Regions from separate parts of the Homo sapiens genome. Here regions 1, 3, 4, 5 and 6 are each linked to region 2. Evidence: promoter capture Hi-C in 16 types of primary human blood cells and fetal thymus (Javierre and others, 2016). All regions are on one chromosome and are shown on one strand. Each heading gives the region's core, a stretch centred on a gene start or on the middle of the fragment in contact. The rest is flanking DNA. Distances are from core to core; before and after follow the strand shown. Region 1 overlaps INO80C (INO80 complex subunit C). Region 2 holds the start of SLC39A6 (solute carrier family 39 member 6). Region 3 has its middle 2.9 kb from the start of ZNF396. Region 4 overlaps FHOD3 (formin homology 2 domain containing 3). Region 5 overlaps GALNT1 (polypeptide N-acetylgalactosaminyltransferase 1). Region 6 overlaps KIAA1328.

Evidence for each region. The method cuts DNA at HindIII sites, captures the fragments that hold promoters and counts their contacts. A CHiCAGO score of 5 or more calls a contact.
Region 1: a fragment that was not itself captured here is called in contact with the fragment with the promoter of SLC39A6 in region 2 in 1 of 17 cell types (naive CD8 T cells); the score reaches 5.5 in naive CD8 T cells.
Region 3: a contact is called between a fragment that was not itself captured here and the fragment with the promoter of SLC39A6 in region 2, in 1 of 17 cell types (monocytes). The highest score is 6.7, in monocytes.
Region 4: a fragment that was not itself captured here is called in contact with the fragment with the promoter of SLC39A6 in region 2 in 1 of 17 cell types (erythroblasts); the score reaches 5.2 in erythroblasts.
Region 5: a contact is called between a fragment that was not itself captured here and the fragment with the promoter of SLC39A6 in region 2, in 1 of 17 cell types (total B cells). The highest score is 6.0, in total B cells.
Region 6: a fragment that was not itself captured here is called in contact with the fragment with the promoter of SLC39A6 in region 2 in 1 of 17 cell types (total CD8 T cells); the score reaches 5.3 in total CD8 T cells.

Annotation. Positions count from the first base shown.
Region 1 is chr18:35,490,538-35,494,938 of GRCh38, reverse strand. The region is part of intron 1 of INO80C (INO80 complex subunit C); the gene reads left to right. Among named protein-coding and RNA genes, the nearest start is that of INO80C, 5.2 kb to the left of the region's middle. RefSeq lists enhancers at 2,919-3,580, 3,581-4,242, 4,308-4,401. The HindIII fragment of the contact is 4,983 bases long and covers 1-4,308 here.
Region 2 is chr18:36,126,047-36,130,589 of GRCh38, reverse strand. SLC39A6 (solute carrier family 39 member 6) reads left to right here and starts at 1,250. Exons shown (of 10, transcript NM_012319.4): 1 at 1,250-1,476; 2 at 3,574-4,371. The coding sequence starts at 3,583. It overlaps ELP2 (elongator acetyltransferase complex subunit 2), which reads right to left and starts at 691. Exons shown (of 22, transcript NM_018255.4): 1 at 519-691. The coding sequence starts at 656. RefSeq lists enhancers at 440-649, 441-946, 810-999, 1,030-1,324, 947-1,452. The HindIII fragment of the contact is 4,684 bases long and covers 1-1,772 here.
Region 3 is chr18:35,377,949-35,382,556 of GRCh38, reverse strand. No RefSeq gene overlaps it. Among named protein-coding and RNA genes, the nearest start is that of ZNF396, 2.9 kb to the right of the region's middle. The HindIII fragment of the contact is 1,256 bases long and covers 2,606-3,861 here.
Region 4 is chr18:36,749,423-36,753,757 of GRCh38, reverse strand. The region is part of intron 24 of FHOD3 (formin homology 2 domain containing 3); the gene reads right to left. Among named protein-coding and RNA genes, the nearest start is that of TPGS2, 77 kb to the left of the region's middle. The HindIII fragment of the contact is 7,350 bases long and covers 1-4,335 here.
Region 5 is chr18:35,586,074-35,590,928 of GRCh38, reverse strand. All of the region lies in intron 1 of GALNT1 (polypeptide N-acetylgalactosaminyltransferase 1), which reads right to left. Among named protein-coding and RNA genes, the nearest start is that of MIR3975, 3.2 kb to the left of the region's middle. The HindIII fragment of the contact is 3,338 bases long and covers 1,666-4,855 here.
Region 6 is chr18:36,838,063-36,842,808 of GRCh38, reverse strand. The region is part of intron 3 of KIAA1328; the gene reads right to left. Among named protein-coding and RNA genes, the nearest start is that of KIAA1328, 11 kb to the right of the region's middle. The HindIII fragment of the contact is 1,202 bases long and covers 1,902-3,103 here.

The DNA of each region.
Region 1 (4,401 bases), core at 568-3,067, 640 kb after region 2:
CCAGCAGTATGCTTAAGACATTTCAAAGGATTATAGCTTGTCCCCACACTACCAAAAACATCCCAGGAGAGAATGACGTATATACATTGTGTTTAGTTTTCTACTGCTGTCATTACAAATTATCACAAATTTAGTGGCTTAAATAACACTCATTTAGTAGCTCATGGTTCTGTAGGTCAGAAGTCCTGACACAATGCAACTGGGTTGACTCTCTGCTCTGGGTATCACAAAGCTGAAATCAAAGTGTTAGCCGAGTTCTTGTCTGAAGGCTCTGGGGAGAAATTTGCATGCAGGTGAATTCAGGTTGTTGGCAGAATTCTGTTCTTTTGGGGCGGCAGGACTGCAGGGCCCCTGTCTTCTTGCTGGCTGTCAGCTGCTGCCCGTGTTCCTTGCCACATGGCGTTTTCCATTTTCAGAGCCAGCTATGGAGAATCTCCCTTGTGTCCAATTCTTCTCATGCTTCAGATATTTCAGACTTCTTTTATTGCTGACCCCTGGACTCAGATTTAAAAGATTTATGTGATTAGGCAGGCCTACTTGGATAATCACCTTTTTTAAAAGTCAGCTGATTTGAGACCTTAATTACATCTGCAAAACCCCTTTGTAGCTGCACCTAGATTAGTGTCTGCTTGAATAACTCGGAGAAATTGTGTGCACACCAGGGGCAGAGTACTTGCAAGGTAGCAGGGGTGTACTGGAATTCTACCTATCACACAAATGAAACCATTAGGAAGATATAGTAATGTCTAACCTTGAGCCAAAGCTAATTATAGGTAATTATAGGTGTTGGTGCCCTATTGTGGTGAGACACAGGAGGATGATTCCTCAGTGCTGGTGATGGTACTCAAAGGAGAGGTAGGGAGGCAGAGGGACTTGAAGTTGGCTTGGAGAGGTTTGCTGGAGAAGGCATTCCAGGTTCAGAGCTGTGCTCATTGTGAGATTAACCCAGGTTGCCCAAGGTTCCCTTAGTGGGGAAGTGAGTGTTTTTCTATAAATGATTGTATTTCTTGAGTTAGAGGAGATTTTATAGGTCTTTCATCACGTAAATTTCCCTACGTCAGTAATTTTAGCTATTTTGATTCTTAAGTAAAGGCAAAGTATGTAAAACTTTCATGGAATTTTAAAATTTACAAAGCACATTTACGTGTAGGACATTAGAGTGCCTTTTGAGATTGTTAAAGATAACTTGAATTATCATGGATTCTTAAGGTGGGTTTAACTTTCCTGAAATATGCTTGCTGTTTCTAAAGTAAAATTGAGTGCTTAGTTGAAATTTAAAGAAGTTTAGAAATTTAGATGCTTAGAAGTCCTGAGGAGTTGAAGGGAATATTTTTCAGCTAAAAGTATTCTGAGAAAAGCATTTATAGAAGCCTTCTTTACATCAGTGTTAGGAAATACTATTAAATAATTTAGTAGTACAAAAACAACTTTGTTTTATCATTTCATCAAGATGGCTCTCTCTAGTTCAGCAGAAATTACTACTAATGTTCATGCTTGCTAAGGGGTGGTACAAATCATCTTAGAATCACAATTCTGTGGATTTATATTTTCACTATAACAGTTGTTGATTAATAATGTTATGAAAGTGCAGTCTTCCATTCACTCTGGTTGTTACTTTGAAGGGATTAATTTTGGTGGGTTGGGGAACAGATAACTGTTAAAGTGAAAGGAATAAGGATAAATAATAGTAATTAATATTTATCAAGCATTTACTACATGCCAGGCACTGTTCTATGTACTTTCTAAGTACTATGTCATTTAATTCTCCAAACGACCCTCTGTGAATTGATCACTTCATTTTACAGATAAAAACGCCAAGAGCATAGAGAGACTGTGTAACTTGCCCAAGCTCACACAGTGTTAGTGTCGGGATTCGAACCCAGGCATGCCGTCCAGAGTCTACATTCTTTTTTCTTAACTGCCTCTCTTGATATCACTCTGTTACTTTGTATATTAGAAGATTATTAATTAGATCTCTGGTATAACCAAATTCATGGTACAGAGAAATGCTTTTGGCAACAGTTTTACTGAATCAATATAGGGTAATTTAGGCTTTTCAAATGTGTATTAAAGTTGATAAAATGTACTGAGAAATCTAATTAACCTATAGACTGAGAGTTACTTAATAGCCTCTTCATTTGTGAAGCAGCTAATAAAACATCTAAAGTGGAGAGGCAGTAGTTGCATCTTTAGGAGGATAGGGCAGATAATGAGAGAATCTTCTGTAATTGGAGGGGCAGCCAGATAATGCTGGACTGATTTGGTTTATTCATTGAAAAAATAGTCATCCTACTATTCAACTTTTGTAAAACACAAAAGTAAAAATTCAACAAATCCTGATAATTTTAAGTCTTAAAAGTTATTCTTTTCTATTTTTAAAATTACCTTTTTTTTCATTTTTAAAATTGACATAAAAAGTCACCCAATCTCCTTCCCCAACAACTATTATAATTTGTGTTTTCTACATGTAGATACAGTTTTTCATCATTATATTTGGTATATAGTATTACGTGCCCCGTTTTTCACTTAGCATTATTTTGTGAACATTTCTATGTGTTGATAGTCTTCTCAATTAGACTTTTAAAAGTCAAATAGTCTTTTATGACTATTGACTGCATTATATTCCAAGGAATTAACTACTCATATTTAATTGACTTTATTATTGGATATTGAGGTTGCATTTTGAATTTTTGCTGTTTTAAGTAACCCTATAGTAACCTTGCAGTTTTAGACCAGGGTCAGCTATTTGCATCTATAATTCTATGACATAGATATAACTTGACATTTGACTTTTCAGTAATAAGACAAAGGATATTTTTCTCCTTTCTTTGTAACCACAGACAGAATGTCCAAATTATCCTTTAGTCTGATTCAGAGTCAAGCACACTACTGTCTGGAGAGATGAAGCCATTGATTTGGGTTCTTCAGTTGGGCAGAGCAGAGCAGGGCGAGACCCAGGCCTTGTGAACTCCAGTCTATTAGCATAGGCGTGTGTTTCCTGAGTAGCAGGCTGGATTTCTCTTCCCTGAGACTTACATCAGCTCTGTTAGTGCTGCAAAGAGGGGGCGCCCCTTAGTGCTAGGCGTTCCTTCCTCTCCTCTTAGGGTGTTCATATCTTGGGGCGGGACAGTTCATCTTGTAAAGTCCTTAGTGATAATAGTGCTTTAGTAATATGGAAATGATGCATCATTTTAATTTTATCTTATTGCATCCAAGCCTCACAGACTTGATCTTCCCTTTGACTAAAGGTCTGTCTCCCTCTCATCCTGTTGTTAGTAGACACAGGAGTCTCAGCTAGGCTAAGGGTGTAGTAATGTGGGGGTCGGGGGAGAGGAAAGTGAAGCATAAAACCAGCTCTGGCCTGGGGCAGGGGTGTCTCTGGTTAGAGAAGGAAGGGAGCCTGCCACAATCTCAGAAGCAGGAGGCAGCACTGGTATGATGTGGCTCAGTTCACTCCAGGGTGGCTTCCTTTCTCTGCCCTCTCTTCAGCCTGACTTCCCAGCGGGGGTCTGGCAGAGGATGGAGTGAGCAAGCCGGCAGGAGGGGTCCCTTTCAAAAACCAGTGCTTCCGTGTGTCATTTTCATCCTCTTCTTGACTCTTCTCTAGCTTGCTGCCTGGAATGGCTGACTTAGACCTCTGGTCCTCTCTTCATTACCACCCTCTCCTTACTCTCAGCAGACGTGCTTGTCTGCCTGAATCTAACGAGGGCCCCTGTCTGGCATTTTTCTCCCCTGTCTCCCTGGGGCCTTGGAACTAAACGCCTATGTCAGAAGAATCCCCCTGTATTGCTTTCCTTTCATTGGGCACACAGCACCTTTGAGCTTCCTCACTGGGATTGGGGAAGTGGAATAAACTGAAAAGGAGAAATAACAGTATTTGGCCAGGCGCAGTGGCTCACACCTGGAATCCCAGCACTTTGGGAGGCCCAGGTGGGCAGACCACTTGAGTCCAGGAGTTCGAGACCACTGTGGGCAACATGGTGAAACCTTGTCTCTACAAAAATACAAAAGTTAGCTGGGCATAGTAGTGTGCACCCGTAGTCCTAGCTACTCATGAGTGGGGGCTGAGGTGAGAAGATGGCTTGAGCCCAGGAGGTTGAGGCTGCAGTGATCTGTGATTGTGCCACTGCACTGCAGCGTGGGTGACAGAGCGAGACCCTATCTCAACAACAACAACAAAATAATAAAAAAAGAAATGCAGTTTTTGAACATCTCTGGAGTGGAAGAAAAAGCGAACTCCACTGCCTGAGGATAGGACCCTGGGAGCTGGCAGGTATGTGGATGGTTCTGTAATCGCTGTTGGAAGCTTTGGGGACTGCATTTTCCCTTTCCCTTTAGTGTGTCCTTTTTGCTCTTTAACAGTTCAGATTGGTTTTTTCCTCCCTGATGGCAACAGTATTA
Region 2 (4,543 bases), core at 1-2,500:
TCCCCTATGACCTTTCCCCCAAACTGACACTTTCTCTAAAATGTCCATTCCCGTAGCTAAAACACAGGTAACATTTCCTTGAAATTCAATACAACAAAAGTTCATTAACCAAAACTGAAGGAAATACTGAAATGAGATTGCACCTGTGGGATGATGGTTTTAATCTACATATAAATTTCAATTGTTTTAAAACCCAAATTGATTAACGGTACTACAGTTCCCAAGGAAGGCTTCAGGTAAGATGCTTATCATTCGGGTTTCTGCGTGGGACTAACAGGTTACTAGCAGCTCATGGGCAGCAATGACCCTAGGATGACGCCACGCGTGAGACGGCAAAGGGTGAGGGGTGAGGAGCGAGTCCGGCAGGTCCACTGGAGACTCCGAGCCCAAACCCCGCTCCCCTGAGCCGACCCGACTCGCCTCCTAGGTCTGGGGCGGCAACTAACAGCGCGCCCGGAGCACGTCCACAGGTTCAACCCGAAAAGCACAAGGGTCGGCCGTCCAGCGACCTCTCTTACCAGGGGGTCATAGAGCACCACGGAGCAGGACGTGCCAAAGGCCAGAAGTCCTCTGGGCCCAGAGCTCCAGTTCAGGACTCCCCGCACCCGGTTTGGGCAGCAAAACACGTGAGAAGTCTCCAGCACGGGTGCCACCATGTCGCCAACTGGTCAGCCGCACAAACAAGAGACGCGCACTTCCGCCCTCGGAGCGGAACTACTAGGGTGGTTTCTCCTGAGGCATCACCCAGTCCACGTTTCGCAGCCAGCCGAGGGCCAGACGGAGGCAGCCCCGCCCCCCTGAGACTCTCCGTTCCCACCGCAGGCTGGAACCCCTGTGCAAGGCCGCCGCTTTGCTAGCTCTGCTCTTGGACCGTGGCCCCGCTCCGCGAACGAGCCAGGCCTTTGTCTCAAGAGCGAAATCCGACCCGAGTGGCTCGGGACCCTCCCGAAGGACCCGGGGCTCATGTGCCTGGGGCAGCGTCAGAAACATCTCGCTGCCCCTTACGACCCGGCTCCCAGCAGCAGCCAGGGCTGGCCCCGGGGGCGCTGGCTAGCGAGTAGGGCCTCGAGGAAATGACCCCCAACTGCTTACAATGCGCTAGGGCCGCGCCACGCCCCCGCGGCGTCGGCGAACACACGGAAAAGCGGATCCGTCTGCGGAGCCGGGTTCCGGGGTCGCACTGCGCATGCCCTGCAGTCCTGGGCGAAGGGGGCGGTGGTTCCCCGCGGCGCTGCGCGCGGCGGTAATTAGTGATTGTCTTCCAGCTTCGCGAAGGCTAGGGGCGCGGCTGCCGGGTGGCTGCGCGGCGCTGCCCCCGGACCGAGGGGCAGCCAACCCAATGAAACCACCGCGTGTTCGCGCCTGGTAGAGATTTCTCGAAGACACCAGTGGGCCCGTTCCGAGCCCTCTGGACCGCCCGTGTGGAACCAAACCTGCGCGCGTGGCCGGGCCGTGGGACAACGAGGCCGCGGAGACGTGAGTCTTTCAGGTCCGGGAGCAGGGCGGCTGGGAGGGGAGCTCCTCAGGCCAGACAGGCGTGGCGGGGTAGGGGTGGTTCTGCGGAGAACCGGATCCTGCGGACCGGGCAGGGGGGCTACAGAAAGAGGATGCTGGGGGGAGCCCGCCGCAGGCGCCCACTCACCCTAGAGAGCCGGACTTCTTAAGGTGCTCAGATGGGCTTCGGGGTGCAACGGAGGATTTTTTGAGGAAAAGATCCGTACTTTTCATCCCATATTCGAAGAAGGGACTGACGTGTTTAGAAATAAAAAGCTTTTAGAAGAGAGCTTTGTGCCCTCTTTTCCGTTTTCTGTACTCGCCTTTTTCTCTAAGGCCCTTCCCTTCTGCTTTCCTTTTTCCTCCAGCACACACCAACTTGCAGGAAAGGAGATCCTTCAACGGGTCCACGACCGCGCTCAGCATCCTCCCTGGAGAAAGGCTCGGAGCTGTCCCCTGTGCTAGTCCCCTCCCACCCCGCTCCTCGCCTCTCTCCTGGGAATGATTTCTAAATGTTTATCTTTTACCTAGTAAAAGAATTCCCGAAACTTCAAGCCCCAAAGATTCCTCTTTCAGGAGCCTCGTTCTACGCCGTACCTCCATTTCCCACTGTTCCCTGTATGATACCTCGCACTTGTGCAACACATGAGTTTAACGAGTACTTGTAATATACATTCCTTCATGTGTTTTCCTCCTTCGCCTTGCAAAATAGGTTTTACCGGTATTTTAGATAAGGTAATGAATGCGAGAGCCCTGTCCAAAGAACAGCTGACCGTGGTAGAGCTGGATAGCCCCATGCTCTTGCTTAGTTGTAAACTTGACGTCTGCGTCTTTTGCTGGAGATGTGAGTTTGACCACCATCACCTCCACCGTTGGTGCTGGACATCCTGCTGGATCTGAATTAACTGAATTCTGGCTCTGCTTAACTGAATTCTGCTTTTCAAGCTCCAACTCAATTGCTTCCTCCTCTTTGGGGCACAGGCCTTTGGTTCCAAACACTACTGTGGATGATTAACAGCCTGTGATTAAATGTTGACTGGTTTGTAGTAACACAAGGATGCTACAGTGAGTTTTTCATGAAGTTCAGTTTACTTTAAGAATTCTATGTATGGACATAATGTGTCTGATTCATTGTCAAGTCGGAAAAAAGATTCAATGTGTATTTAAAGTATACACTTATTTGAGGCTGGGCGTAGTGGTCACGCCTGTAATCCCAGCACTTTGGGAATTGGAGGTGGAGGATCTCTTGAGGCCAGGAGTTCAAGACCAACCCGGACAACATAGTGAGACCTCGTCTCTAGAAAAAAAAAAAAAAAACTTTAAAAAAAAAATTAAGTATACATGTATTTGAGTATGCATAGAAAATATCCTGAGGGATACACTGGCAAAATTGAGCACCTTTGAGGATTGTGATTGGGGAAAGGGGTCTTAAATGGGCTTGTATGTAAGGAGAGTGTATTAGTTTAAAATTTTTTAAATATGTGAATTCTGAGATTATTATTTCTATTTTTTGGTGTTTGAAGGTTATTTTATGAAATGATGGTGATGATCAAGGTAGCTAGATTTCATTTCGTTCTTTTTTTTTTTTGAGACAGGGTTTCACAATGTTGCCCAGGCTGGTCACAAACTCCTGGCCTCAGGTGATCTGCCTGCCTCAGCCTCCCAAAGTGCTGGGATTATAGGCATGAGCCACCACACCCAGCCTAGATTTAATTATGAATCATTGGCCTCAATGATTCAAATAATCGTTCAAATAAATTCTCAACTTCAGTAAGCAGTTGATGGCTGTGGCCACATGGATCTCCCTTGTCTCTGAATTACTATTGCTTTTACAGTGCTAATGGCAGTCTCTTAGCACTCAGCTCTTCTCCAGTTGTTTCATGTGTTTTAGGAATGCAAGGGTAGAGCCTAGGACTCTAGTTCTTTCCATCTTCACAGTACCTAGCGTCACACTGGTCACACCACATGATGCTCTGGCAACTTTGATTATTTGATTACACATTAATTTTCAGTATGAGGTTTCTTAATTCAATTTGTTTTAGAAGTGAGTCAAGAATTTTTTTTTCCTGTCTTTTCTAGGAAGGCGCAATGGCGAGGAAGTTATCTGTAATCTTGATCCTGACCTTTGCCCTCTCTGTCACAAATCCCCTTCATGAACTAAAAGCAGCTGCTTTCCCCCAGACCACTGAGAAAATTAGTCCGAATTGGGAATCTGGCATTAATGTTGACTTGGCAATTTCCACACGGCAATATCATCTACAACAGCTTTTCTACCGCTATGGAGAAAATAATTCTTTGTCAGTTGAAGGGTTCAGAAAATTACTTCAAAATATAGGCATAGATAAGATTAAAAGAATCCATATACACCATGACCACGACCATCACTCAGACCACGAGCATCACTCAGACCATGAGCGTCACTCAGACCATGAGCATCACTCAGAGCACGAGCATCACTCTGACCATGATCATCACTCTCACCATAATCATGCTGCTTCTGGTAAAAATAAGCGAAAAGCTCTTTGCCCAGACCATGACTCAGATAGTTCAGGTAAAGATCCTAGAAACAGCCAGGGGAAAGGAGCTCACCGACCAGAACATGCCAGTGGTAGAAGGAATGTCAAGGACAGTGTTAGTGCTAGTGAAGTGACCTCAACTGTGTACAACACTGTCTCTGAAGGAACTCACTTTCTAGAGACAATAGAGACTCCAAGACCTGGAAAACTCTTCCCCAAAGATGTAAGCAGCTCCACTCCACCCAGTGTCACATCAAAGAGCCGGGTGAGCCGGCTGGCTGGTAGGAAAACAAATGAATCTGTGAGTGAGCCCCGAAAAGGCTTTATGTATTCCAGAAACACAAATGAAAATCCTCAGGAGGTAAGATGAGTGCTGTTCATTATTTTAATATACCTGTGTGTCTGTCCTGTCTCTGCTACTCTATCTCTAGTTATGAGGAGTTTAAAGTAAAAGTAAAATGTTGAAGTTATTGAAAAGGGAATTTCCACCTTCTCAGCAAGGCACTTGCCACAAAGCATGCCTGCTATGTTGT
Region 3 (4,608 bases), core at 1,984-4,483, 750 kb after region 2:
AATTAAGGGTCTTGAGATGGATAGATTATTCTGGATTATCTGGGTGGGACCTAAATGCAACCACATGCATCCTTATGAAAAGGACGTAGAGGGAGATTTGAAGATGTTGGCCTTGAAGATTGGAGTGATGCAGCCAGAAGCCAAGGAATGCTGACAGCCAAAAAATGCTGGAGGAAGAAAGGAATGAATTCTCCTCTAGAGCCTCCAGAAGGAGGACTGCCCTGCATGCTGTCACTTTAAGCCCAGTGAAATGGGTTTCTGACTTCTGGCCTTTAGAACTGTGAGGAAATATATTTCTGTTGTTTTAAGCCACCAGATTTGTGATAATTTGTTGCAGTGTCCACAGGAAGCTAATACAAGTGCCCACTGAAATCACCTGGGGAGCTTTAGCTACATTATTTCATTTAATCTTCAGATTATTATGATCCCAATTTTATAATCAGGAAATAAGGATTAGAGAATTTTAGGACTTAACCCACAGTAGCTTGCGGCAGAGTTGGGGAGTGAACCCAGGTTTGTCTGTTGACTTTGAGACCACATTGGATTTCATAAACAAGGGAAAGAAAAATGTGTAAGATGACTCCTAAGACTTACTGCCTGGAACATAGAGCTAACAGCAGTTTCACTATCAAAGCAAGGAATTTGGCCTATTGAGGGTGATGGAGAGAGAAGATGAACTCAGTTTGGGATACTTCCTGATATGGTTTGGCTTTGTGTCCCCACCCAAATCTCATTTTGTAGCTCCCATAATCCCCATGTGTTGTGGGAGGGACCCGGTGGGAGATGACTGAAGCATGGGGGCGGGTCTTTCCCCATGCTGTTCTCATGATAGTGAATGGGTCTCATTAGATCTGATGGTTTTAAAAACAGGAGTTACTCTGCACAAGCTCTCTTTTCTCTTGCCTGCTGCCATCCACGTAAGATATGACTTGCTCCTCTTTGCCTTCTGCCACGATTGTGAGGCCTCCCCAGCCATGTGGAACTGTAAGTCCAACTAAACCTCTTTCTTTTGTAAATTGCCAGTCTCAGGTATGTCTTTATCAGCGGCGTGAAAACAGACTAATACACTTCCTTAATTGTTTTCCCAACTTGATACTTTATTCACGTCTTCCACTAAGGGAGAGAGAGCTCCCCTAGTTCCCTCACACAAACTCTCATATCTGTTCACTGTGTGAAAAAGAGTCATTCGAAATCTAAGCTGCTAGAACTCTAAATTATTTTAGGACTTGGAAGAATGTTATTACTGATCCTGAGTCACATGGTAGGCACCTATAAACTAGGGAGCTATAACCTTCTGTTTCTCTGATTACAGATGAAGCCTTTTCCCTTACCTGCATTGTTTTGTAAAATGTTATATATGGCCAAAGGGAAGAGGAAGACCCCTTCCCTCTCCACTGTTGGCCTTTATTATAGATTCACCTTTCTCTTACCTTTCTCACACACAGACTTCTTGACTATCACATTGACTTAAGATAGAATGTTAAATACACTCTTTTAAATTGGAAACCAAATGAAAACCAACTATAAAGAAAACAAGCTATATGGAAAAGAAAACAAACTAACTAATTAATTTGTTGAAACTATTAAGCCAGCCTTGTATAGAAAATGTTGCAATCCTGATAAATTTCTTTGTCTTCTTCCTATATTAGCAAGATTTAACTTTTAACTTTGGAGCACTGATCCCATTTCTCTGGAGTCTGTGTGTCCTGGAATGGCTATTCCCAGCTTTTTGTTTGAATAAACTCTTTAAAACTGGATTCTGACCCTTTTATTATTTCAGGTTGACAAGTGTGTACCCACACTTGGACTCCTACACATACAACCCATCCACCACTTGCTTGGAAACCATAGTTCCATTGTAGGCAAATTGCTTTTTATTGCTCAATCTAAATTTCTTTTTTTTTTAATTTTAAAGTTTTTATTTTTGTTAATTTTTTATTTCAGTTTTGGGGTACATGTGGAGGCTTGTTATACAGATTAACTGAATGGGGGTTTGGTGTACATATTATCTCATCACCCAGGTAATAGGCATAGTGGGTAGTTTTTGAACCCCGACCCCCCACTCAAGTAGGCCCTAATGTCTATTATTCCCCTCTTTGTGTCCATGTGTACTCAATGTTTAGCTCTCACTTATAAGTGAGAACATGCAGTGTTTATAAACCTAAGTTTCTTTTTTTTTGAGACAGGGTCTCATTCTGTTGCCCGAGTTGGAGTGCAGTGGAATGATCATGGCTCACTGCAGCCTTGACTTCCTGGGCTCAAGTGATTCTCCCATCTCAGCCTCCCAAGAAGCTGAGACCAAAGGTGCATGCCACTATGCCCAGCTAATTTTTGGTATTTTTTTGTGGAGATGGGGTTTTGCCATGTTGTCCAGGCTAGTCTCGAACTACTGGGCTCAGGCAATCCTCCTACCTCGATCTCCCAAAGTGCTAGGATTACAGGCATGAGCCACCATGCTTGAGCCAACCTAAATTTCTTAACCTTCTAATTCCTTATCCTATAGAAACATGGCAGCTGTGTATAATACATCCACTTCATGCACCTCGGGTCAAAAAAAACAAGGGTTATGTGTTTAGACAGACACAGATCCATGCCCCTAAAAGCTTCTACCTAGGTGGAGAGCAAATATGTTGGGATGAAGGGAGTGGTGAAGAGTACAAAGTTGAGAAATAAATGTCTCTATAATGTCATTGTAGAGTGATTGCCTTAGAAATGGTTCATAAAAGTCATAGAGATCTTTACATACCTATATAAGGGAAGCATTCAGATATAAAACATGTTTGATATTTATTTTCACATGATCACACAAAATGTCCAATTATGTGCAGTTATTGATGATAGCATCCCATTCAGCTTCTGATCCAGTCTACCCAAAAATCCCCTCAAATATCCACATAAGCCATTGTCAAACATACTCTGTTGTTTAACTTCCCTGAATGACACATTATGTACCCAATCATCTGTCAGTCTTCCATCTAAGCAAGCACCAGCCTCCCAAGTGTTTCCAGAATCTGCCTCCATTCTCGTCCCCTCTGTGCTAGTTCAGACCTTCACCAGCTGCAGCCTGGATCTTTGCAACAGCTTCAGAGCTGGTAACCCTGTCTTGAGTTTTGCCTCCCTTCAGATCTATCCTTCGTGTTGCTATCAGAGAGCCCTACCTGAATTGCAGATGTGCACATGCCACTAATTCAAGTTTCTGCTTAAAACCTTAGTTCATAGCCCTTTACTTGGCCTGTCAAACCCTTTAAAACTAGGCTGCTGTTTGCCTCTTCAGCCTCATCCTCAGCCACTCATCCTGCTGTCCTTTAATCCAGCAAATCTAAACAACATCCCACACTGGTACCTCAGTCTCAAATGTATCAACACCAGCTTTCTCCATCAACTCCAATCCCAGTCTCTACCCAGGACCTCCCTTTCTTTGTGCTTTTATAGTATCCTGCAGTTGTCTCCATCAGAATGTTGCCACATTGTTTAGAAAAGTCAATTTATTCATCTTTCTCTTTACTTAGTCTATTAGCCCCTAAAGGGCAAGAATCTATATTTTACCATTGAATTCCCGGTGTTTACGATACAACTGGTATATAGTAGGTGCTCACCCTACTGGGACCTTATTCCTGCTAATTTCTTTTCACTTTACCCCCAAAATTTTTAAAAAATTAAAACAGCAAACAAAAACCTGTTCTTGCTCTAACTACCTGACTGTGAAACTTTTCTAATCAATCTTTTATGTCTGCTCCCTTTTTTGTTGTTGCTGTTTTTAACTTTGGCCTCTGATATCTGGCTGTTTGGTGGACCATACCCATGAATTCATCATCCCTGACCTCTTGCCACATCCCACAGTTCCTCCTTCTCCTTGAAGCTTCTGACTGTCGTTCATATTCTCCTTAAATTGTCTCCTGTGACTTCACACCACTGCCAAGCCTTGCCCTCGTTTCAAATTCTCCCCTGACGTGAGTCATTTAACCTACCCTACCCACCAGCGCCAGAAACACATTCCCACCTGCACTTTTGGGCTGTTTGCTATTTGTGTTGGCAGCTGCATCAGCAAAAAGTCTTATCCTGTGAAAGCCCCTTGTTTGAAGCAAGAATTTCTTCAGATTTAGTTTTACTGTACTCTAATTGGGATCCAAACCTCTCCCTAGTCCCCTAGCGTCATAAACTGAGTAAACCAGCCTCTTCTTTCTTCACTTCAGATTCCAGTACTAACATACTTTTGGGGCGGCGTCATACCAAAAGGGATTTTTTGTTATTGTTCTTTATTAATTAGCAAGTGCTTTTCAAGCATCTCCGTCCTCTCCCTAATTCCTCAGTTACGAGTACAAGTACATTTTCCAGGAGTCCCTAGGGAAAGGGGCTAGAGAAGGAAGTCACGAGGTGGGGCTGTGGTGCATTTAGGCTTAAATTTATTTATTTATTTATTTTTTGAGACGCTCTCACTTTGCAGCCCAGGCTGGAGGGCAGTGGCGCAATCATGGCTAACTGCAGTCTCCACCTCCCCAGATTGAGGTGATCCTCACCCCTCAGCCTCCCAAGAAGCGGGGACTACAGGCATGCGTCTCTACACTCGGCTAATTTCTGTATGTTTTGTAGAGATGCGGTTTAGCCATG
Region 4 (4,335 bases), core at 1,836-4,335, 620 kb before region 2:
CCCACCAGGATGGCTGTAATAAAAGAGACAGGCTAGAACAAATGTTGGTGAGGATGTGGAGAAATTGGACCCTTTCCACAGTGCTGGTAGGAAGATAAAATGGTTTAGCAGCCATAGAAAATGATCTGGCAGTTCTTCAAAAAGATAAACAGAGTTTATTACATGACTTAGCAATTTTTCTCATTTGCATAAAAAGAAATGAAAATATGTGTACACACAAAACCTTCTACACAAAAGTTCATAGAAGCATTATTCACAATAGCTGAAAGTGGAAACAACCCAAATGTCCATGGAAAGATAAACTAAGTATAGCATTGGATGGATATAATGCATGGATAAACTAAATATAGCATTTCCAAATAAGGCCCTGGACGACTAGCCCTATCACCTCTCTGACTTCATCTCTTGTGACTCTAGTTACACTGGAATCCTGGTTATTCCCTGAAAAAGCCCACCTCAGAGCCCCAGACACCATGTGTAGTGTGCAGGAGCCCTGGAGGGACACAGAGGCCAAGGAACTGAGAGCCTGCAGGGCCTGTGGGGAGGGGTGAGGAGGCCACTCCACAGGGTAGGACCACAGGCCTGACAAGGTATCCAGTACCAGCTGTTCCCCATGTGTAGAATGTTTTCCCTACTGACAGCTGCATGGATGGCTCTCACTCATTCCACAGGTCTCTGCCCAAAATACCACCTCCTCCGAGAAGCCTTCCATGACCACCCTGTGTCAGGTCACTACCTAACCATTTATACTCTTATTTTTTCTTCCTGGCTGTTATTACCACTTGACATTATATATTAGATATATGATATGATATTAGGATAGGACAGTACAGTATAATATAACAACTATTCAAGATCTGTATGCAGGAAGATTTGAGGGGAGAATCCATCAGCCTGCAGCTAGCTAACCACTTCACCTCATTCTAATAGATTAACATTCTGGGTCCTATTTTATACATAAGTACAACCCAAGATTCTTTATCCTACACTTTCTAGAGCATTGTTTTTGGATGCACAGGGAATCCAAACTTAACATATAAATTGGAAATGTTATTTAAGCATGTATTTTACAAACAAGGAGAGTAACAACAAACAAGTAAAGGTCTGAAAAAGATCCAGATATACATTTGAAAAGAGAGAAACTATGGTATTCCTTCAGAAGAACAAAAAGGATATGACTTTGAGGCCATAAAACTTTTAAGGAATTTTTTTCAGTTGAGTTTGTAACTTTTAGAATACATGATATGAAGATTGTATGGTTATGGGCAGGCTGGCCCCCCTAACCAGTAAGCCAAAGCACAAGTCAAACATCTTTGATTTGTTCCATCATCTGACTCTTACTCAAGCCTGCCACTGTCTAGCCCAGAATGGGAGGGGTGGACTTTGGGCAATGGCACACCAGTCTTGGTGTTTACTTGTCTTCTGCCTGTCTCTCCCCCTTGAATGGCAGTCCATTGCTGTAGTTTGCTAGGCCTCCCAGGAAGGCTTTTGATATGGTTTGGCTGTGTCTCCACCCAAATCTCATCTTAAATTGTAGTTCCCATAATTCCCATGCATTGTTTAGGGACCAGGTGGAAACAATTGAATCATAGGGGGCGGTATCCCCCATCCTGTTCTTGTGAGAGTAAGATCTCACGAGATCTGATGGTTTTATAAGGGCTTTCCCGCTTTGCTTGGCACTTCTCCTTGCTGCCGTTATGTGAAGAAGGACGTGTTTGGTTCCCCTTCCACTGTGATTGTAAGTTTCCTGAGGCCTCCCCAGTGGTGCAGAACTGTGAGTCAATTAACCTTCTTTCCTTTATAAATTACCCAGTCTCGGATATGTCTTTATTAGCAGCATGAGAATCGACTAATAACAGCTTTCTTCTCTTCCTCTCCCCAGTCCCTCTCTGTGCCTTTCACAGTGCAACTGTAGCCTAATGAATCTACAGGAGTGAGTGGGTGGGTCTGTACATCCAGAGAGTACAAAAGGATAAAAGGAAAGGTTAATATGCACGTTTAAGAATTAAAGACAAAACCCACATTATTATCTCAATAGACACAGAAAAGGCTTTCAATAAAATTCAACACCCTTCATGTTAAAACACTCGATAAACTAGGTATTGAAGGAACATACCTCAAAATATAATAATAAGGGCCATCTATGACAAATCCACAGCCAATATCATACTGAATGGGCAAAAGCTAGAAGCATTCCCCTTGAAAACCAGCAGGAGACACGGATGCCCTCTCTCACCACTTCTATGCAACATAATGTTGGAAGTTCTGGTCAGGGCAATCAGGAAGGAGAAATAAAGCGCATTCAAATAGGATGAGAGAAAGTCAAACTATCTTTGTTTGCAAATGACATGATTCTATATCCAGAAAACTCCATCATCTCAGCCCAAAAGCTCCTTCAGCTGATAACTTCAGCAAAGTTCCAGGATACAAAATCAATGTACAAAAATCACTAGCTTTCCTACACACCAACAACAGTCAAGCTGAGAGCCAAATCAGAAAGGCAATCTCATTCACAGTTGCCACGAAAAGAATAAAATACCTAGGAATACAGCTAACCAGGGAGGTGAAAGATATCTACAATGAGAATTACAAAACACTGCTCAAAGAAATCAGAGATGACACAAACAAATGGAAAATATCCCATGCTCATGAATTGGAAGGATTAGTGTCATTAAAATGGCCATACTGCCCAAAGCAGTTTACAGATTCAATGCTATTCCTATCAAACTACCAAAGACATTCTTCACAGAACTAGAAAAAAATTGTTTTAAAATTCATATGGAACAAAAAAAGAGCCTGGATTACCAAGGCAATCCTAAGCAAAAAGAACAAAGCTGGAGGCATCACACTACCCAACTTTACAATATAGGGCTACAGTAATTGCGACAGCATAGTACTAGTACAGAAACAGGCACATAGACCAATGGAACAGAATAGAAAGCCCAGAAATAAGGTCACACACCTATGACCATCTGATCTTTGACAAAGCTGACAAAACAAGCAATGGGGAAAAGACTCTCTATTCAATAAATGGTGCTGGGATAACTGGCTAGTCAAATGTTGAAGATTGGACACTTTCCTTACACCATATACAAAAGTCATCTCTAGATGGATTAAAGACTTAAATGTAAAACCCAAAACTATAAAAACCCTGGGAGACAACCTAGGCAATACCATCCTGGACATAGGAACAGGCTGACAAAGCAATCACAGCGAAATTTACCAAAAGCAATCACAATGAAAGCAAAAATTGACAAATGGGATCTAATTAAATTTAAGAAGTTCTGCACAGCAAAAGAAACTATCAACAGAGTAAACAGATAACCTATAGAGTGGGCGAAAATTTTTGCACACTATGCATCTGACAAAGGTCTAATGTCGAGCATCTTTAAGGAACTTTAATTTACAAGAGAAAAATGAACAACCCCACTAAAAGTGGGCAAAGGACATGAACAGACACTTCTTTTTTTGAGATGGAGTCTTCCTCTGTCTCCCAGGCTGGAGTGTAGTGGCACTGTCTCGGCTCACTGCAAGCTCCACCTCCCAGGTCATGCCATTCTCCTGTCTTAGCCTCCTGAGTAGCTGGGACTACAGGTGCCCACCACCATGCTCAGCTAATTTTTTGTATTTTTAGTAGAGACAGGGTTTCACCGTGTTAGCCAGGATGATCTTGATCTCCTGACCTCGTGATCCACCCACCTTGGCCCCCCAAAATGCTGGGATTACAGGCGTGAGCCACCATGCCCGGCCCCGAACAGACACTTTTTAAAAGAAGACATACATGTGACCAACAAGAATATGGAAAAAAAAAAGGCTCAACATCACTGATCATCAGAGAAATGCAAATCTAAACCACAATGAGATACCATCTCACATCAGTGAAAATGGTTATAATTAAAAAGTCAAAAAATAACAGATGTTGGTGAAGTTGTGGAAAAAAAGGAACACTTATACTCGGTTGGAGGGAGTGTAAATTAATTCAACCATTGTGGAAAGCAGTATGGTGATTCTTCAAAGAGCTAAAAGCAGAACTTCCATTCGACCCAGCAATCCCATTACTGGGTATATATATACCAAGAGGAATATAAATCATTCTACCAGAAAGACACATGCACACGAATGTTCATTGTAGCACTAATCACAACAGCAAAGACATGAAATCAACCTCAATGCCCATCAATAACAGATTGGATAAAAAAATGTGGTACATATACACCACGAAACACTATACATCCATAAGAAAGAACACGATCATGTCTTTTGTGGGAACATGGATGGAGCTGGAGGCCATTATCCTTAGCAAACCAACACGGGAACAGAAAACCAAATATCACA
Region 5 (4,855 bases), core at 2,085-4,584, 540 kb after region 2:
AGACAGTGTTCCCTTTGCATGGAAACACTTAAAATAATTAAAATTTATTCTGCAGTCCTAATACGAACACAATATGGACTTCAATCTCCAAAGCATCAGGCCTCTCCACTATGACAGTGCTGCCTTCCTACCTTTTTTTACAGTCCCTGCCACGCATGGGGACTTGTAAATGTTAGTAAAGTGTTTACTGATAACTCACTAATTCTTAGGAATGGACAAATGAGAGTTTCAATAGTCCCAGAAATTTCCTCCTACCCTTTAACCTGAAAGACAACAATAAATTATAAAACATAATGTGTAGATTCCAAAGGACAATCCAATAACTTAGTATGTGTCTCTACCAATGCAATGCAAATTCTACTCCTTTCTACAAATGAACTGATACTTTAAAAATATTCTTTTTTCAATGAGAAGTCATAACTTCCATGATGCTTAAACCTAAAGAACTGTCTTCAAATCACCTCCTGGTTCCCATAGAAGTTTGTCCTATACTCAAGGCTGTCAATCAAAAGATTAACATACTGGAAGCCAATACTTAGACATCTTTACAGAATCAAAATCAATCATATGTTCTCTAACATTAGAAGTCATAAATTACAACGAAGGATTTAAAGGAGTCTCATAACGATTTATAAGAATTTATAATTTGTAAAAATTTATAAGAATTCTAAACACTGAACAACAAATGGATCACTTGAAATCAGAGATGCACTCTCAACTCTCATCACCGCTGCTACATCTGCCCTCAAAACAATCCCAAACATCCCTCCCCATTAAGGACTAAAATGGGCTTCACATTGAAGGTGTCCCTACAAAAATCCATGGAAAACAGCAGAGAAGTTCAACTGAATGGCTAATCACTAGTCTATCATTTTAAAAAGAATCAAGCAGTAACACTCCAGGCAGTGCTAGTCAAAGTCTAGTTCCTAGATGGCAAACTGGCACTCACCTAGTCCATGAGGAGTAAGGAGAGAGGGTGAGAGCAAGCATTTAGAAACTTTGGTAGCAATTTGACAGATAAATGTTACATCTACTGAATCCAATAATTTTTGAAATGGAAATTATATATTGTGGTTTTTAATTTCATTTTTCTTGCAATTCATATTTTACACATATTAGGAAAACATCAGCCCATGAAAAGAAGAAATGTTACAAACTGATCCTTCGGGGATATTCAATTCCAGGAAGATGAAGCAGATGTATTTTCCCTATTCCTCCCACTAAGCACAACTGAAAACTCTGAACATTACATATAAAACAAACATGAGAAGATTCTTAACTGTGGAGAGAAGAAGGCTAGGGACCTCAGGCTGCAAGGAACAATAAAATGGTGAGTTCCCTGAGACTTATTTTTGCCTCATATATCCCAGCTTTCTGGAGTTGAAAATGGCAGCAATCTGAAACCTGGAAACATTAACAGAAGCAGAAGGGAAAAAAAGTCAAAAGACCAAGAAAGGGACATCCTACTGAGACAGAAAACTGATAGGAAAAAAACCACTCTACTCCAGACAAACATCACAGAAAAAAACTGTAGCCTTACCCCGACCCATGCCAACAAAGGTCAGGTGGGTAGCCTAGACTTCACGTACTCCCCGGGTTATAATAAGGCACCCACTTCCCACACACCAGGGTGGTGTTGAGAAGGCCAAGTAGGGAGCCCAAGCTTTCATTTACATCAGCTGGTAACAAGGCACCCTTCCACATACACCCTCTCCCCCGGATATCCTGGACCTCTACTCCCACCTGGTGGAAACAAGATACTGTACCTCTTGGGTCAAGAAAGGCCAAGTGGGGAGCCTGTACTTCTAATTTCCTCTAGTGATCACTAGACAGTGCCATGTGCCCTCCCCACCAACCTTCCCCCGCCAGGGTGGTATCAAAACAAAGCGAGCTAAAACAGAAGGCTTAAGTAAGATCCAGAATCTCATAGTATAATATAAAAACACCCAGGTTTTCATTTAAAAATCACTCATCATACCAAGAGCCAGGATGAACTCAAACTGAATGAAAAAGACATCAGGAGGCAGCAACACCAAGAAGAGAGATGTTAGAATTATCTGACAACAATTTTAAAGCAGCTGTGATAGACATGCTTCAATAATTACAAGCATGCTTGAAACAAATTAAGAATAAATAAACAAAAAGCCTCAACAAAGAAATACAAGATATGAAGAAAAACCTAAAGCAAATTTTAGAGCTGAAAAATACCAAAATAAAAAGACTCAGCAGCAGAAAGGGAGGGAAGGACACAGGAAAGGAACTGGAAGACAAGAGCCCAATATGAATAAGAGAGAAATGGACTAAAGAAAAATTGACAAAGCCTCAAAAACATGTGGAATCATAACAAAAGACTGAACATTCCAGTCATCAGAGTCTTGAAAGAAGAGGAGAAAGAGGGCAGGCTGAAAAAGTACTCAAAAAAGTAATGGTGAAAACTTCCTAAATTTGGCAAGTGACATAAACTTACAGATTTAGGAATCTGAGTGAACCCCAAGCAGTATAAACCCAAAGGAATCCACACCGAAATGTATCATAATAAAACTTTCGAAAACTAAAGACGAAGAAAAAATCCTGAGAACAGTGAGAGAAAAACGATTCCTTTCTACAGAGGAAAAATTATTAGAATGACAGTGGATTTCTCCTCAGAAACCATGGAAGCCAGAAGAAAGTGGTATAATTTTTTCAAGGGCTGAAAGAACTATCAACACAGAGTCCCATAACCAGAGAAAATAACTGGCCTTCTCTCTCCACAGTTGATAGAATGCCTTGACAAAAACAAGCAAAGACACAGAATTCAACAGCATCATCAACCAACAGGATGTAAGAGCAGAAAACACATTTCATTCAGGGGCCCACAGACAGACCATATTCTGGGCTGTAAAACAAACCTCAATAAATTTAAAAGAACTGAAATCAGAGTGTGCTCTCCAACCAAAATGGAATCAAACTAGAAACCGAAAACAGAAGATGAAAGGAAAATTTCCTAATACTTGGAATCTCAACAGCCCTCTTCAACATACCATGGCTCAAAGTGGAAGTCCCAAGATAAAATAAAAACAGACATTGAATTGAATGGAAATAAAAATAAAACAAAGGTGTGGAACACAGAGAAAACAGTGCTGAGAGGGAAACATTGCTAAATGCCCCCATGAATCTAAGTGCAAAATTCCTTAACAAAATATTAGTAAATGGAATTCAGCAACATATGTACAAAAAGTGTTATACTGTGACCAAGTTTCATGCCATGGATGTAAGGCTGGCTCAATATTTAAAAAATAAATCAATACAATGCACCATATTGACAGGCTAAAGAAGAAAAATCACATGATCAGATCAACTGATGAACAAAAAACACAATAAAATTCAACACTCACTCATGATAAAAACTCTCAGGAAGATAGGAACAGAGAGGAACTTCCCTAACTTGATAAACAGCATCCATGAAAATCCTATAGTTAACATTATACCTCATAGTTAAGGACTGAAGGAATGCTTTCCCCCAAGATCACAAAGACTGTCCTTTCTCACCCTTCTTATTCATCATAGTGCTGATATTTCAGCCAGTGCAACATGGCAAGAAAAGGCAAGAAAAAGTGTGCAGATTAAAAAGGAAAAGAATAAAATTGTTCCTCTTTGCAGGTAACATGGTAGTCTGCATAGAAAATCCCAAGGAATCTCCAGAAGAACTCCTAGAACTAATAAGTAGGTTCAGCAAGATTGTGGAATACAAAATCAACATATGAAAGTTAATTATATTTCTACATACTGGCAATGAGTACATGGACACCAAAATTAAAAATACCGTTACAATTACTAAAATATAAAAAGAAATATTTACTTACAAATGTAACAAAACAAATCCAATAAAAACTAACAAAACATATGTACAGGACTTGCATGATAAAACTACACAATGCTGATGAAAGAAATCAAGGATCTAAATAAATGGAGAGACAACCTGTGTTCACAGATTGAAAAATGCAACATACATACTAAAGACGTCGATCTTCTCCATACTGATACAGGTCTACTGCAATTTGTATCAAAAGCCCAGAAAGACCTTTTTTGTAGATATAAACAAGATTATTCTACAATTTATAAGGAAAAGCAAAGGAACTAGAACAGCTAAAATAACGGGGGAAAAAAAGTGTAGGAGGAATCAGTCTACCCCATGCCCATGCCCACCACTCCCAGCTCCAAATGCTTTTTTACAAAGATACAAAGGCAATTCAACGGAGGAATGACAGCCTTTTCAAGGAATGGTGCTGAAGTAACTGAACATCCATAGACACACGCATAAACACACACACAAACACACACACAATTTTGACCTAAATCTCAGCTTCATAAACTGGATCATGTAAAAACCACAAAACTATTAGGGAAAAAAAGCACAAGGGAAAAATCTTCAGGATCTAGGGCTAGGCAAAGAGTTCCCAGACTTGACACCAAAAAGAATGATCCATAAAAAAATAAACTGAGAAACTGGACTTCAACAAATTTAAAACTTTTGCTCTGCAAAAGACCTTATTAAGGGGATGAAAAGACAAGCTACAGACAAACAACATACCCAACAAAGGACCAGTATTTAGAATATATAAAGAATAAACAAGTCTCAAAAGTTAATAGTAAAAAGGACAAACAATCCCATTAGAAAATGAACAAAAGATAGTTCCCTGAAGAAAATATACAGTTGACAAATAAGCACATGAGAAGTGTTCAACATCATTAGCCTTTAAGGAAATGCACGTTAAAACCACAATGAGACATCCCTATACACCTATCAGAATGGCTAAATGGTGACAGGCCAGGCGTGGTGCCTCATGCCTGTAATCCCGGCACTTTGGGATGTTCC
Region 6 (4,746 bases), core at 1,253-3,752, 710 kb before region 2:
TAGACTGGGGGAAGAAGGCAATGGATTTGGCAATGGAGGAAGTTGCTGATAACCCATGAAAAGACATTTCATTAGTGATGTGCTGAGTAAAAGAACAAAAGAGAAATCTTTGTAACTAGGCAAAAAAAAAAAAATAAATAATTAGTGGCATTGTGTTAACAACAGCAAAAATCTGAAAAGGCAAATGTCTATTAACTACAGAATAGTAAAACTGTGGCTGGCATATTGATACAATGAAATTCTAGAGGTACTGGTAGCTATGATACTAACTTTCCCCCTCAAAACTACCCTTCCACCCTCTGCTTTGAGATGCTAAGTCTAAGACTCTGGAAACACCATTTCTCCTTCGCCACCTGGCACTCTGTTGAACTCTGCCAACACAAAGAACTAGATGAAGACCAGGAAGAAAGAAGGAAGGCTACTTCCTTCCTGTTACTGACAGTGTCACCCCTGAGTTCCTTACCCTGGCAAGTACTGCTGATTCCAGTTTGCAATTTTTTCCAGCCCTTACAGAACCAGCCTTTATCAGGCCTCCTCAGAAATGGCAGTACCAGCCGGGTTGGTGTCCCATCACCAGAGGTCCAAGTTGCAGCTTTAAGGGGCCCCTCCTCTAAGCTTCTAAGTTTCAATAATTCCGACTTATTCTGCCCTCTCATCCAGTTCTAGAGATTGTGGTTGTTTCTTATAGTTACTACTTTCATGATACTTTAATGTTCCCTTTTTGCCTTTTTGGTTCTCGCACTATTCAATAATTTTTCTTTTAAATATTCTAAGTTAAAATAACTGACTAAACCCCGAGACGGTGAAAAGAAATGAAATATAACTACATACAACATAAAGAAATCTCACGTAACATTGGAAGAGCCATAGAGGGAAAAAAAAACAAGAAATCTCATAAACATAATATGAAATAAAAAGCAAATCACACAATACAAATGGATATGAGCTCATTTATATAAAGTTCCAAATATATATGAAATACTGTTTCAAAAAAAATGTATTTACACTGTAGGACAGGGCTTGGTAAACCATGGCTGCAAGCCGAATCTGGCCCACTGGCTGTTTTTGTAAACAAAGGTTTATTAAAACGTGCTCATTCATTTGCATATTGCTTATGGCTCTTTTAATGCTACTGTGGCAGAGTTGAGTTGTTGAGACAGATGTTACAGCCTGCAAAAGTTAAAGTATTTACTACCTGTCCAATTTATAGAAAAAGTCGGCGAACCCCGATATGGAAAAACAAAAGAATTATAAAGTTCAGGATACGAATTACCAAAGAAGAAAACATGATGAGGAAAGGCCACATATCTACAGTCACTTGACTTACAACAATGGTATCATTGCAATTCAAAGAAGAAAAGAATCCTCTTCCCAGTAGATGGTGTTGGGCCAATACTGACAGTCTATTGACCCAATACTGGCAGTCTATGGGCCCAACACCATCTATTGGGAAGAGGATTCTTTTCTCTCTGAATTGCAGTGAATCTTACTTTACACTACATGTGCATATTACTTCCTGATGAATAGTAGGCTTAACTGTAAAAAATAAAGCAATATGGCCACAAAAGAGAGAGGGAACTTGCTGCAGAGTATAATCAGCTAACAGCCTCCAGTTGCCAAACCTTTGGGATCCACTGCACTGTTCATACCAACACCAATGACTGGGAACAGTAGAGACACTAGAACTGAGCTATTTCTGATCCAAATGGCATCCTCAAAAGGCAGTATTTGCTCTGGGGTTCCTCACTAGCAAAAAGGACACTTATCTCAGATTGCATGGCAATCTGAAGTCTGAGGTTCTTCCTAGTCAATCTTCCTTCTTTTCCTCTCCTGTCACAGGTGCCAGACTGTAGTGAAATCTGAAGATTCCTGCTCATTCTACTCTTTATGCTTTATAAGCTTTTCCTTCATTAAATCTCTTCCATTTCTAATTCCATCTCGCGGTCTGCTTCCCAGAAGACTTGAACTGACCTAATTACCACTGTGAAATCCTTAATGAATTAAGGATACTCAACATCAATACCAACAAAGACTACACAGAGAAAAAAATCACAAGATGGCTGGGCACAGTGGCTCATGCCTATAATCCCAGCACTTTCGGAGGCCGAGGTGGGTGGATCACGAGGTCAGGAGTTCAAGACCAGCCTGGTCAACATAGTGAAACCCCATCTCTGTTTATACAAAAATCATCTGGGCATGGTAGTGCGTTCCTGTAATCCCAGCTAGTTGAGAGGCTGAGGCATGAGAATTTCTTGAACCAGAACCCAGGAGGCAGAGGTTGCAGTGAGCCGAGACCATGCCACTGTACCTGGGCTACAGAGCCAGACTCTGTCAAAAAAAAAAAAAAAAATCACAAGACATGCTCTTCAATGGAAAAAAGGAAAAGAAAAAGCAAACCACCATTTCTAGTTTTAAGAAAAAGCACACATAGACACATATACCCCCGACAATGTAGGACATCCTCTTCTAGCCCAGATGGAGTAACAGGGACCAGATTTACCCTAGTTTCAGAAAACAAAACAAAACAAAAACCTGACAAAAAAACAGGAAACAATAGTTTTCATTGGATAGCAGGCAACACAGAATGATCACTGGAATTGCAGAAACAAACAAGGCGAGCCCTACAACTGTCCCAGCTAACTGCTGTGGAGAGTTTTCAGGGCTAAGGTAGGTAAATCCAGACAGAGCCCAGCAATCTCCCTGAGTTGAAAAGATACAGCTGGGAGTCCAGGAAAGCCAAGGTTTCTAGTGTTTGCAGAAACACTAGAAACCTTGCAGGGCAAAGTAATGCCAAGGATAGAGCTGCATAGGAGAGCTCCAGGGATCTGCAGAATCCCTTCGCGTCAACTACTGAGCACTGACCAGCATATGTATGTGAGAAAACTACTCATCCCGGGGAAAGAGCCCAAAATGAACAGTGGAAACAATTTCTGTAGCTAATACAGCATAGGAGAACAGTCTGTTCCCACCAGCCAGAGGGGAAAACCTTGTAATTTAAGGGGCATCAGGAAGAGTATTCAAAAGAGTATGGCCTACAATGGGCAAAATTACCCCTATACTAAAAGCTGCTCTGGCACCACCTTTAAAAGCTCAAAATGAAGCTTGGAAAGAATCAAATTGCTTCCAAATAATTTATCACTGTCTCAGAACCCAAAAAGGCAAAATGCATACTGTCTTGTGACATCCAATAAAAGACAACCAAGCAGGCAAAGAAGCAGAAAAATACAGCCTATAATTAGGAGAAAAATTGCTCAATTGAAACCTATCCACAAATGACTTGGATGATAGAATTCATAGTCAAGAATATTGAAACAGTTATTATAACTATGTTCCATATGTTCAAGAACCTAGAAGAAAGCATGTCAAGTAGCGACATGGAAGATGTAAACAAAAATAAGAGACTGAAACTGAACTTCTAAAGATAAAACTACATTGTTTCATATGAAAAACACACTGGATGAGATTAGTGGCAGATTAGACATTGCAGAAGGTTAATGAATTTGAAGACATAGCAACAGCAATACAAACTATCCAAGGATAAACAAAAAAATTTTTTAATGAAAAAAATATGAACAGAGGATCAGAGAGCTGAGAGGGTAACTTCAAGAGGCCTAGTATTTGTGCAACTAAGGTCACTAGAAAGAGAGGGAAACAAAAATATCTGGAGAAACAATGGCTGAAACATTTCCCAATTTGATGAAAACTATAAACCCACAGTCCCAAAAAGCTCAACAAACCTCAAACAAAAGAGATACTTTAAAAATTACTCCAAGGTAGGATGGGCATGGTGGCTCACACCTGTAATCCCAGCACTTTGGGAGGCCGAGGCGGGCAGATAATGAGGTCAGGAGTTCGAGACCAGCCTGACCAACATGGTGAAACCCCATCTCTACTAAAAATACAAAAATTAGCCGGGTGTGGCGGTGCACGCCCGTAATCCCAGCTACTCAGGAGGCTGAGGTAGGAGAATCACTTGAACCTGGGAAGCGGAGGTTGCAGTAAACCAAGATCGTGCCACTGCACTCTAGCCTGGGCGACACAGCAACTCTGCACCTCAAAAAAAAAAATTACTCCAGGGTATACTATAACCAAATTGCTCAAAACCAGTGATAAGAAGAAAATCTTAAAAGCAGCCATATTTAAACACATACACACAGAAAAATAAGGAGGAATAAAAATGACAGCCAACTTCTTAAAAACAATACAAGCCAGGCAACAGTGCAGCAACATCTTTAAAGCACTGAATGAATAAAACTATCAACTCAGAATTTTATAACCAGCAAAAATATCTTTTGAAAAGGAAAGAGAAATAAAGACTTTTCAGACATACGTGAGCTGAAAAAATTCTTTCCTAGCATACCTGAACTAATGTTAAAGGAAGTCTTTTAGGAAATCTGGATACACGTGAAAGAATGAAAACACCAGAAATGGTAACTACATGAGTAGATTTAAAAGACTTCTGTTGCATTTGTAAAATTTCTTTAAAAGGCAATTAAAATAAAATGCATCCAAAATGGAATAAAGGCATCCAATAAGAATATGTGAACTATCTCTATTCACAGACAACTTCATCTTATATAGAGAAAATGGTAAGGAATTCACAAAAGAACTATTAGATTAGAAATAGTTTGATAAAGTTGCAGGATACAAGATCAATTCACAAATCAACTGAATTTCTATATACTAGCAATAAACAATCCAACAGTGAAATTCAGAAACAACTGTGTTTCTAATAACATCAAAAAG